Regions from separate parts of the Homo sapiens genome. Here all the other regions are linked to region 2. The links are contacts of gene promoters, found by promoter capture Hi-C in human tissues and cell types (Jung and others, 2019). All regions are on one chromosome and are shown on one strand. The core of a region is centred on a gene start or on the middle of the fragment in contact, and the rest is flanking DNA. Distances in the headings are between cores, read along the strand shown.

Region 1 (2,931 bases), core at 148-2,647, 51 kb after region 2:
TATGCTTGTGGAGTATTGTTCAAGAAGGTCCTCCTAAATTTCTTCCCCAAGTAGCCACAAAATCCAATTGGTCACCAAGTCTTTCTTAATGTTTCTAGAATTTTCTCCTCCTCTGCACATTCATTTTCACTGCTCTGATTCAAACTCTCATTATAACTCACTTGGACTATTGCAATAGGTTTCTAGCTAATCTCGTTGCTTTGGGAGGAATCATCTATTCCAGGTGTTGGCAAACAATATGGCTTATGGGCCAAATCCCGTCTGTATCAGCCTTTGATGTAATCCATTCTCCACTCTGCAGTCAGAGTAATATTTCAAAGACTCAAATCTCGTTATGTTAATCCTACTTAAAATCTTGCAATAACTTCTCATCATCCACAGAATAAAATTCAGATACTTCTATACCAAATATAATTCACAGGGCTGTTATTCATTTGTCCCCTGCCTGCTTTTCTAGTCTCATATTCTGCCATTTCTCTGCTTGCTTAGTATATCCTATTATGACAAAGTACTTGCAGTGTACCAGATGTGTGGTATTTTTCCTCAAGTTCTTGCTTCTGGCAAACAGTCATTTTTCAAGATTATGCACAACTGTTGACACTTAAGTAGACTCTCTAGATCTCTCCAAGCAGAAGGAAACACTTCCTTCCTGTGAATTTTTTCATTTCTTCTTCTTATCCTTATCACTGATAGTACTTATTTAAATTTATTGTTATTTTAAATGACTTCTCTGTTTTTCCTTAGAGATTATAAGCCTTTGGAGGCTCTGAATGGTGTCTTATTTATTCTAATATCCCTTGTACCTCCCATACTGTCTCGCATGCAATAAACCCTTATGAAACATCTGCTGAATAAATGAATAAAGAAACTTTAGCTGAGTCTTTCTTAAATAAACTTTCATGTGATCTGTAGAAAAGTAAACTTTTTGCCATGATAACTCCAAAATGCTACAAATTACTCTTATGCTAAAATTTGCTGAGAAAAATAAAAGAGAAAAACAACACTTCCCCATAAAGTTATATAATGGAAGAACAAAAATCAACTTTTTAAAATCAGAGAAATGAAATATTTTTTACTATGAGAAAAGCAAGGAAATGGTTTTGTTGACTGTAAATTAGAAATATACTATTATGTGGATCAAATCATATTATTAAAAGTTGAATTGATTAAAATACTCAATTTGGCTTCATGACGTAAAATGACTGGTGTTTCATTTTCTAACTGCTTTGCCAGGTTTTACAGACTGAACTGACAGTACAAAACAATGTTAGGACTTCACATAGGAAATGTGAAGGTAGAATTAAAGGCTCTGAATCCAGATGAACAACAGATGTAATGAATACAGCTAATCAGAGCACATAAAGCAACATCACACAGTAAATAACACACAAAAAGCCAGATGATATAATGTTAAGTGAAAAAAGCAGAAAGTGAAAATATGTATTTACTCAGACTTTCAGAAATGGCAGAGTTATTTAACCAGAATAACCTTCGCACAGATAACTATTATATATGATATATTTACACCTCTCTCCACACCCTAACCACCCATTTGAAAGTACTGGAGACCAACAAAACACTCAGATACCAGAGAGAGTCTACCTTTGAAAGACAGGAATTGCAACAGTGAGATTTGTGAGTATGCACCTTTTTGCCTGAGGGTACATCCTGTAGGGACCAAGAGCTTGGTCCTCTGAAAGTTCACTGAAAAATCAACTTGGCAAAGGCAGATTAATTGGAGAAAAGGCATACAAATGTATTTAATGAGTATACACAGGAGCCTTCAGAATGAAGACCCAAAGATATAGAGGAAACTGTCCATTTCAATGCTTAGGTTCAATAAATTATAAACAGCCATGTAGAAATATGGTTGGACAAAAATATAATAGTAATAGACTGAGTGGGGAAGCCCAGCATGGCCTGTCTGTCTGGATTCTTGGCCTCTCCGAGCAGTATTCCTTCCTTTTGGGTGTGGGGCAGGACCCTCTTTGGAATAGGGGGTCTTATGACCTACAGGCAAACAACGTAGGTCAGATTAATTTCTTTATGGCTAGTTCTTACACAGAATATTTTAGGTGTTATGGTTGGCTTTGGGGTGAAGGGGTTCTTCTGGTTTCTATGACTGTCTTGGGGAATACGGTTTCTAGTTTCTGTGGCTGGCCTCCGGGAAGAACGGGACTGAGAGATACAAGGGTAGGAGGGGTCAAAGAAAAACCTTTGCCTGTGAGTCTGCTTCTGTGGCCTTCATTTTGGAGTGTTGTTTTCTGAGGCCCCATAGTACCAAACTTCATGGGCTCTGGGTAACAGAAAGTTGCAGTTTTACTGGCTTGAGGTAAAAGAGGAAGTGAGTTCTAGATTGGCAGAGAAGCTGGAAGGATTGAGGAGGAAATTCCTGGAAAGGAGGAAGCTGCGGAAGGAGGGAACTTCAAAATTTGTGTATAAATTCCACCCAAACCCCCACTTGACTACTATATATGCCCAAGAGACTCCAGTGTCCTGGTGAAAATCAGCAGCTGGAATATGAAAGAATTGGGCAGAAATTTTAGCTGCTGCCCACTACTAGAGAAATAGAGTTCAGATTGTGAGATTAGCCAAGTTAACTACCTGCTAGGACAAAAATCAGCGCTCTTAAGAAGAATATAAATTCCAGAGTCTCTATAATATAGCTTTTGTAATGTCTAGAATACGATAAAAAACTAGGTATGCAAACTTGTGGGAAAATGTGATCTATAGGAGAAAATGCAATTATTAAGATCTAGTCACCAGATGATTCAGATGCTACAATTAAAACGTAAATATTTAAAAGCTGCTATTATAAATGCATTAAAAAAACTTAAAGGAAAAATAACAAATTAACTGAAAATTTTGGCAGAGAACAAGAAACTAAAAAAAGAGCCAAAAAATTATAGAAATGAAAAATACATTAATTAA
Region 2 (2,749 bases), core at 189-2,688:
ATGAAATGAGCAGAAAGGCTTAGAGAAGTATAGCCAATGTCTCTGTTACAAAGACACTATATGAAAAATGCTCATATTTTAACTATCCTAAACACCGAGTATTTAAGTCTATTCTTCCTGGCTAACACTTAAAAGTTCAATAGCAGGAAGAATGGGGGTGCTGGAATAGCCAGCACTGGATGAAGGAATGTTTTTATTCTGATTATTATGAAGTCCTACTTTTAAAAATATATTTATACATTTAAATGGTACAATATCCTGGTGTTAAAACCTTAAAAGGAACTTAAAATATCTTTTCGTATTAAGCTACACAAAACTGACGATTTTTAATAAAGATGTAAAACTTGTACACATTTAAAGTTCCCATTTATAGTTTACATTTATGGCACACTTTTAAACCATTCCAGAAGGCATGACTTTACTACTGGGTTAGACAGAGTTCCATATTTCAGATAGTTCATCATTAAAAATTAAAAAAAAAAAAGCCCAAAACAATAAAACCCAAAGAAACAGATGCTCAAAGCATTAGTGGATTACTTCCAAAAAGACTCCATAATAACCCAGTTGGCCAATGAATGAGGGAGGCGAAAAGGCAGGGCGGTGGAACTAAACCTTATCCCTATTGTTTGCAAACTAAGACCCTAGTTAATCACCACCGCTGTTACCACAGCCGGTTTAAATAGGAGTCTCGGATTTTTGCGGTACATGAAAAATGTCAACCGTGAAAGAAAAATATCCGGGTTTTAAATACAAAGGACACTCGAATTTCAGTTTAAATCCCACTCAGGCATTTCAAAGACTGTCACTTCCCTGCAGTCCAGAGTTAATCAAGGTTGCCCGGGTATCTCTCTCAGGAGGAACGCGGAGCCACGTAGAGCATCTTTTCATTCTAAACCCGCCCCAACCTTCCATCTTTCATTAAAAGAGATTTGTTTAAACGTGGCAACGCCTTCACAGTGAGATTTAACTACTGTTAAAATTTCAGCATTCGAGCCGAATTGGTGGAAATAATAAACTACGGGTTTAAAAAAAGCCACGGAGGATGCGTATAAACAAGGTTTACTCGCGGGGGACCGGCAGGGCCTCCGAATCCTCAACACTGAGAGCTGGCTGGCGTGCGCAACCGTCGAGAGCGCTGGTCCAGCAAACGCCCCCAGTGCCCCGAATTCCCTTAGTCTCCAGGCCGGGCCCCAGCACCAGACGTCCCCAAAAGCACTGCGAGGCCCCGGCTGCGACGTCCGGCCTCCTGACACCCTCTCCCACCCCACGGTCCTGCTTCTCTCTCTGGAACGTTCTGCGTCTTCCCGTTCCCCATTTACTCACCAAGGAGAGCTGGGCAGAAGTTCCAGAGCCTCAGTGCCACTTTTCCCGGCCCGCTGTACGTCGGGGCACGCCGACCGCGAGCAGCCACATTCAACGGCCCACAGGATTCAAATTCGTCCACTTCCGCTCGCAAACCCGGAAAGAGCGGTCGGCCCCGCCCTCGAGGGGTGGGACCCGCGGAGGCGCTGGCTGTGGGGAAGGGCCCGTGTGCTCCCGCCCTTCTGGCGCTCCTGCGCTGCTGCTCGGTGCTAACCTGGCTGTGTCGCCTTCGCTTGTTTGTTTTGTCGGGTCTCTCTCCCTATTTAGGAGCTCAGAAAAACTCCGGGCGCGGGGTCATTGTTTCCGCCTATTTGCTCTTGAGGGGATCCTCTTTTTTCCAAAATGGACAGAGATGTGCTGAAGTTTCGTCACCTTCGAGGAATGGGGCGAATGAAAGCACGAACGGAGGCAGGAGGGTTTTATCTTTCCCTTCATCCTCGAGGAAACAGCAGCAGCAGCAAGAAGGAAAAAAACAAACCCTCCAAGTACTTAGTGCAGCCTTTCCTGGGCCTCTCAGTCCTATCCCGGCACAGTCAGGGCTTTTAATTTATTTCTGTCCTGGGTTTAGGGAAAACAAAAAGCCAAGTTCACCCGTATTCAGCCAAAAGTTGAAAATAAGTGGTCGGACCAATTCCTGGTCTCAAATAAACTATTTGATGGTGTTAGAAGGCAATAAATTTTATTTCCCCCCTCAGATAAGGGCTCACTTTACGAGATTATTAAGTATTGTCCCGTGAGATTATTGAAACAACAGTATCTTTTCCTTTATCGAGGACCACAGTATGTCTTTGATCCAAAACGTCTTAAGCTTCTGAAGAGACATCTGGGAGCTTCCAGAAACTAAAGGAAGGACTGGAAATGCTAGGGGGTGAGGGGCGCTAAATAACTCTGACCTTTATGGCTGTGATTGATGTTGCCACCAGATCATCCTCACATCTAATAACATTGAATTACCTAAACGGATCAGTACAAACCAAACCATGACAGCATACCTTTAGCCTTTGTCAAAAATACAGTTTGAGGGCCGGGCGCGGTGGCTCACGCCTGTAATCCCAGCACTTTGGTAGGCCGAGGCGGGTGGATCACGAGGTCAGGAGATCGAGACCATCCTGGCTAACATGGTGAAACCCCGTCTCTACTAAATGTACAAAAAATTAGCTGGGCGTGATGGCAGGCGCCTGTAGTCCCAGCTACTCGGGAGGCTGAGGCAGGAGAATGGTGTGAACCCGGGAGACGGAGCTTGCAGTGAGCAGAAATTGCGCCACTGCACTCCAGCCTGGGCGACAGAGCGAGGCTCTGTCTCAAAAAAAAAAAAAAAAAAAAAAAAAAAATACAGTTTGAAAGGTTTACTAGATTTCTGAGAACCTATGCTACAGGTAATCTGACA
Region 3 (2,700 bases), core at 190-2,689, 34 kb after region 2:
AAACATTTGCATCAGAGCAATCTGATTTCAGATGTTGCATCAAATAACAAGCTGAACACTTCACGCTGTATTTATAGACCTTCTAAGAGACTAAATTATGCATAATTTATTGTAACTTTGAGATTGCCACTCATTATGTAGTGTTAGCAGCAAATACTTACTGTGGGACACATATAAGTATCAAAATAAAATTAGAGAAGTTCGGAGACTGTGTCTTTTAAGGCCGAGAACTTCATCAGCTCTTTTAGTATTTTCTACCATTCAAGAATTAAAGCACAATCCATTAACTTAGCAAGTAACGGTGATAAAAATACTCTTATGATAATTCCTTCTACAGTTTTTCACTGCAAAGATTGTTGTTTCTCCATGTGAACTTAACAAATACTCTAGCAAGCTTGAAAGCATGAGGCTTTTTCTTGTTTTCCTCTCCCATTTTTGGGGTCTGCTTTCTCCAGATGCCTCTGTTATGGACTTCAGCTGAAAGCAGCAGTGCAGATCTGGGTTGTATTATGAGCACATGCATAGCATTAGATCCCTTGAGCCACACCACCAATAGCAGACCAGTTCACTGGCCTGGGTCATTCCTTCCAGCTGAAGCAATGTGGGAACAAGGCCTCTCTGACAGCCCTAGGCTACCCACAACCAGGAATACCACTGGGGATGAAGAAACAGAGAGAGTGCATCAGATTACGGCTATGCAAATTGCCTAATATTAATGTGGTTTTCCTTGCTCATAAGAAGGCATGGTCCAGGTGTGGTGGCTCACGCCTATAATCCCAGCACTTTGGGAGGCTGACACAGGCGGATCACCTGAGGTCAGGAGTTTGAGACCAGCCTGGCCAAACAACATAGTGAAACCCTGTCTCTACTAAAAATACAAAAGTTAGGCATGGGAGCTGTTTCGCTGTTTCGCTGTTTCGCTGTTTCTCAGAGGGAACTTTCGGTCACTTCAGAGTTTGGTGCCAGGAATGCAGAGACCAAAGAAAGGTAGAGAAAACTTGAGGTTTTAAATATATGGGATAGATGTGAGGTGGAGAATGGGGTTTCAGGAAAGAATTGCTAGTGGAGGTGCCAGAAATGCAATTTCTAAAATCCCAAAGAAAACAGGAGTGTTTCAAGTACTCTCTAGAGAAAGGCAGTGTGGATAAGCGTTGGAGTCCACATCTGCTCCCCCGTCCCCTCAGATTTGAAATTCTAGGTCACAGTTAACCTCCTTACATGCTCTATCTTCCAAGTGAAATTTACGTTCACAGGTGGGGCACTCATGACAGCGGGCATAGATCGGCGAGCACCCCAGTGAAGCTGAAACCAGGATTTTTTCTTTTTCTCTTTGATTTTTTTTTTTGTTATAGTTTATGGCTAGTAAGAATCATGTGGGTCTGGATATTGATATTTCCTGATTCAATTACATTGGGTTTGTTTGGGAAATCATAGTTAACAAGTAATTGATGCTTACATTGTAAAGTGCTGAAGCAGTGATCACATTTAATTTGTGTTTTATAATTTTTCATGAGTGTGAGGCTTGTACTCATATTCTTATGCCACATGCTGAATGTCTGGCATTTAGGACAAGTGAACACATGAAATATTTGGGGGTCAGAGAAAGTCAATTTTGTAAGTGCTGAAGGCTTTCCTGCAATGGAACACTGGAGGAGGCCTGTTTTTAGCATTGTAGCCTATTGTTGTGATAGCCACTGTTTCCCAGACATGGGACATTATTCTGCTCCCTATTAGGAGTTTTAAGATAAGAAAATTCTTGGTCAAACAAACTTGAGAAAAGCAGTCTTGAGCAGATTTACCCATCTTTATCTTCCTGTGAGGCTTCTCAGTTTTTAATCTGTGAATATTCACATTTAAACCCCAAGAGGGAACTATGCAGTGCAGTACTTCTCTGATGTTTTTGGTTATGGAATACTTTAATTTTGCATACTGGTGGAGTTTAGGACATGCTACCCCAACATATGACACCTTGGCATTTGAAAAAATAGCACAAGCAGAAAGGCCATTCTCATCTTCCTCTCGTCCTTCTCCCCTGAAGCAGATCATACCTTCCCTCTATCTGGAGAAAAGGAACATCCTTAGCCTTGAAAATACAGAGATACCGAGAAGAATCTGAACAGGCAGGCCTTGCTAAGTTCCCCTGATTTTATTATCATTAGATCTTACCCTCTTTGTCCAATCATACTTCTACACAATTGTCTACTCTTCATCAAACCCTACCATGGAAACATGCACGTTTTCTGTTTCTTTGGGTCTTTATTTTTGAAGGCTCCCTATGTCACATGAATTTAAATTTGTAAACTTTTCTCTTGTTAATCTGTGTTTTTTTTACGGGGGCCTCAGCCATGAGCCTTGCAATGGGTGAGGAAAAGATACTACTTTTTCTCTGGTACAATACCAGTTAACAACTTTCAGATAGTTTATTAGGAAAGCAGTCTGGGGACTACCAAGCTATGAAAAGGGCCTTGGCCACTGATTCCTGATTAGTTCAGACACTGGACCTTTGGACAAAAGCATCAGAGTAAAAAAGTACATTTACCTGGCTTTGGGCCCTGTGCTTGTATCCCTTGGGCATTTTTGTTATGGAAAGGGGCTAGGGAGGATAAAGCTTGGTTGGATGGAGGAAAGGGAAAGGAAGGAAAGGTAAGGTAATGGTAGGACAAGATACAGGCATTCAGAAATCTTGCATCCTGACCAAAT

The links. The method cuts DNA at HindIII sites, captures the fragments that hold promoters and counts their contacts. A contact is called where the count stands out against the background at its distance.
Region 1: a contact is called between a fragment that was not itself captured here and the fragment with the promoter of G2E3 in region 2, in 2 of the 25 tissues and cell types used here (dorsolateral prefrontal cortex and mesendoderm cells).
Region 3: a contact is called between a fragment that was not itself captured here and the fragment with the promoter of G2E3 in region 2, in 1 of the 25 tissues and cell types used here (liver).

Annotation. Positions count from the first base shown.
Region 1 is chr14:30,506,833-30,509,763 of GRCh38, reverse strand. All of the region lies in intron 3 of G2E3-AS1 (G2E3 antisense RNA 1), which reads left to right. All of the region lies in intron 1 of LOC105370432 (a long non-coding RNA gene), which reads right to left. Among named protein-coding and RNA genes, the nearest start is that of G2E3, 51 kb to the left of the region's middle. The HindIII fragment of the contact is 6,876 bases long and covers 1-2,931 here.
Region 2 is chr14:30,557,847-30,560,595 of GRCh38, reverse strand. G2E3 (G2/M-phase specific E3 ubiquitin protein ligase) reads right to left here and starts at 1,438. Exons shown (of 15, transcript NM_017769.5): 1 at 1,324-1,438. The region is part of intron 3 of G2E3-AS1 (G2E3 antisense RNA 1); the gene reads left to right. RefSeq lists an enhancer at 1,583-1,772. The HindIII fragment of the contact is 13,115 bases long and covers 1-2,749 here.
Region 3 is chr14:30,523,910-30,526,609 of GRCh38, reverse strand. The region is part of intron 3 of G2E3-AS1 (G2E3 antisense RNA 1); the gene reads left to right. Among named protein-coding and RNA genes, the nearest start is that of G2E3, 34 kb to the left of the region's middle. The HindIII fragment of the contact is 4,279 bases long and covers 1-2,700 here.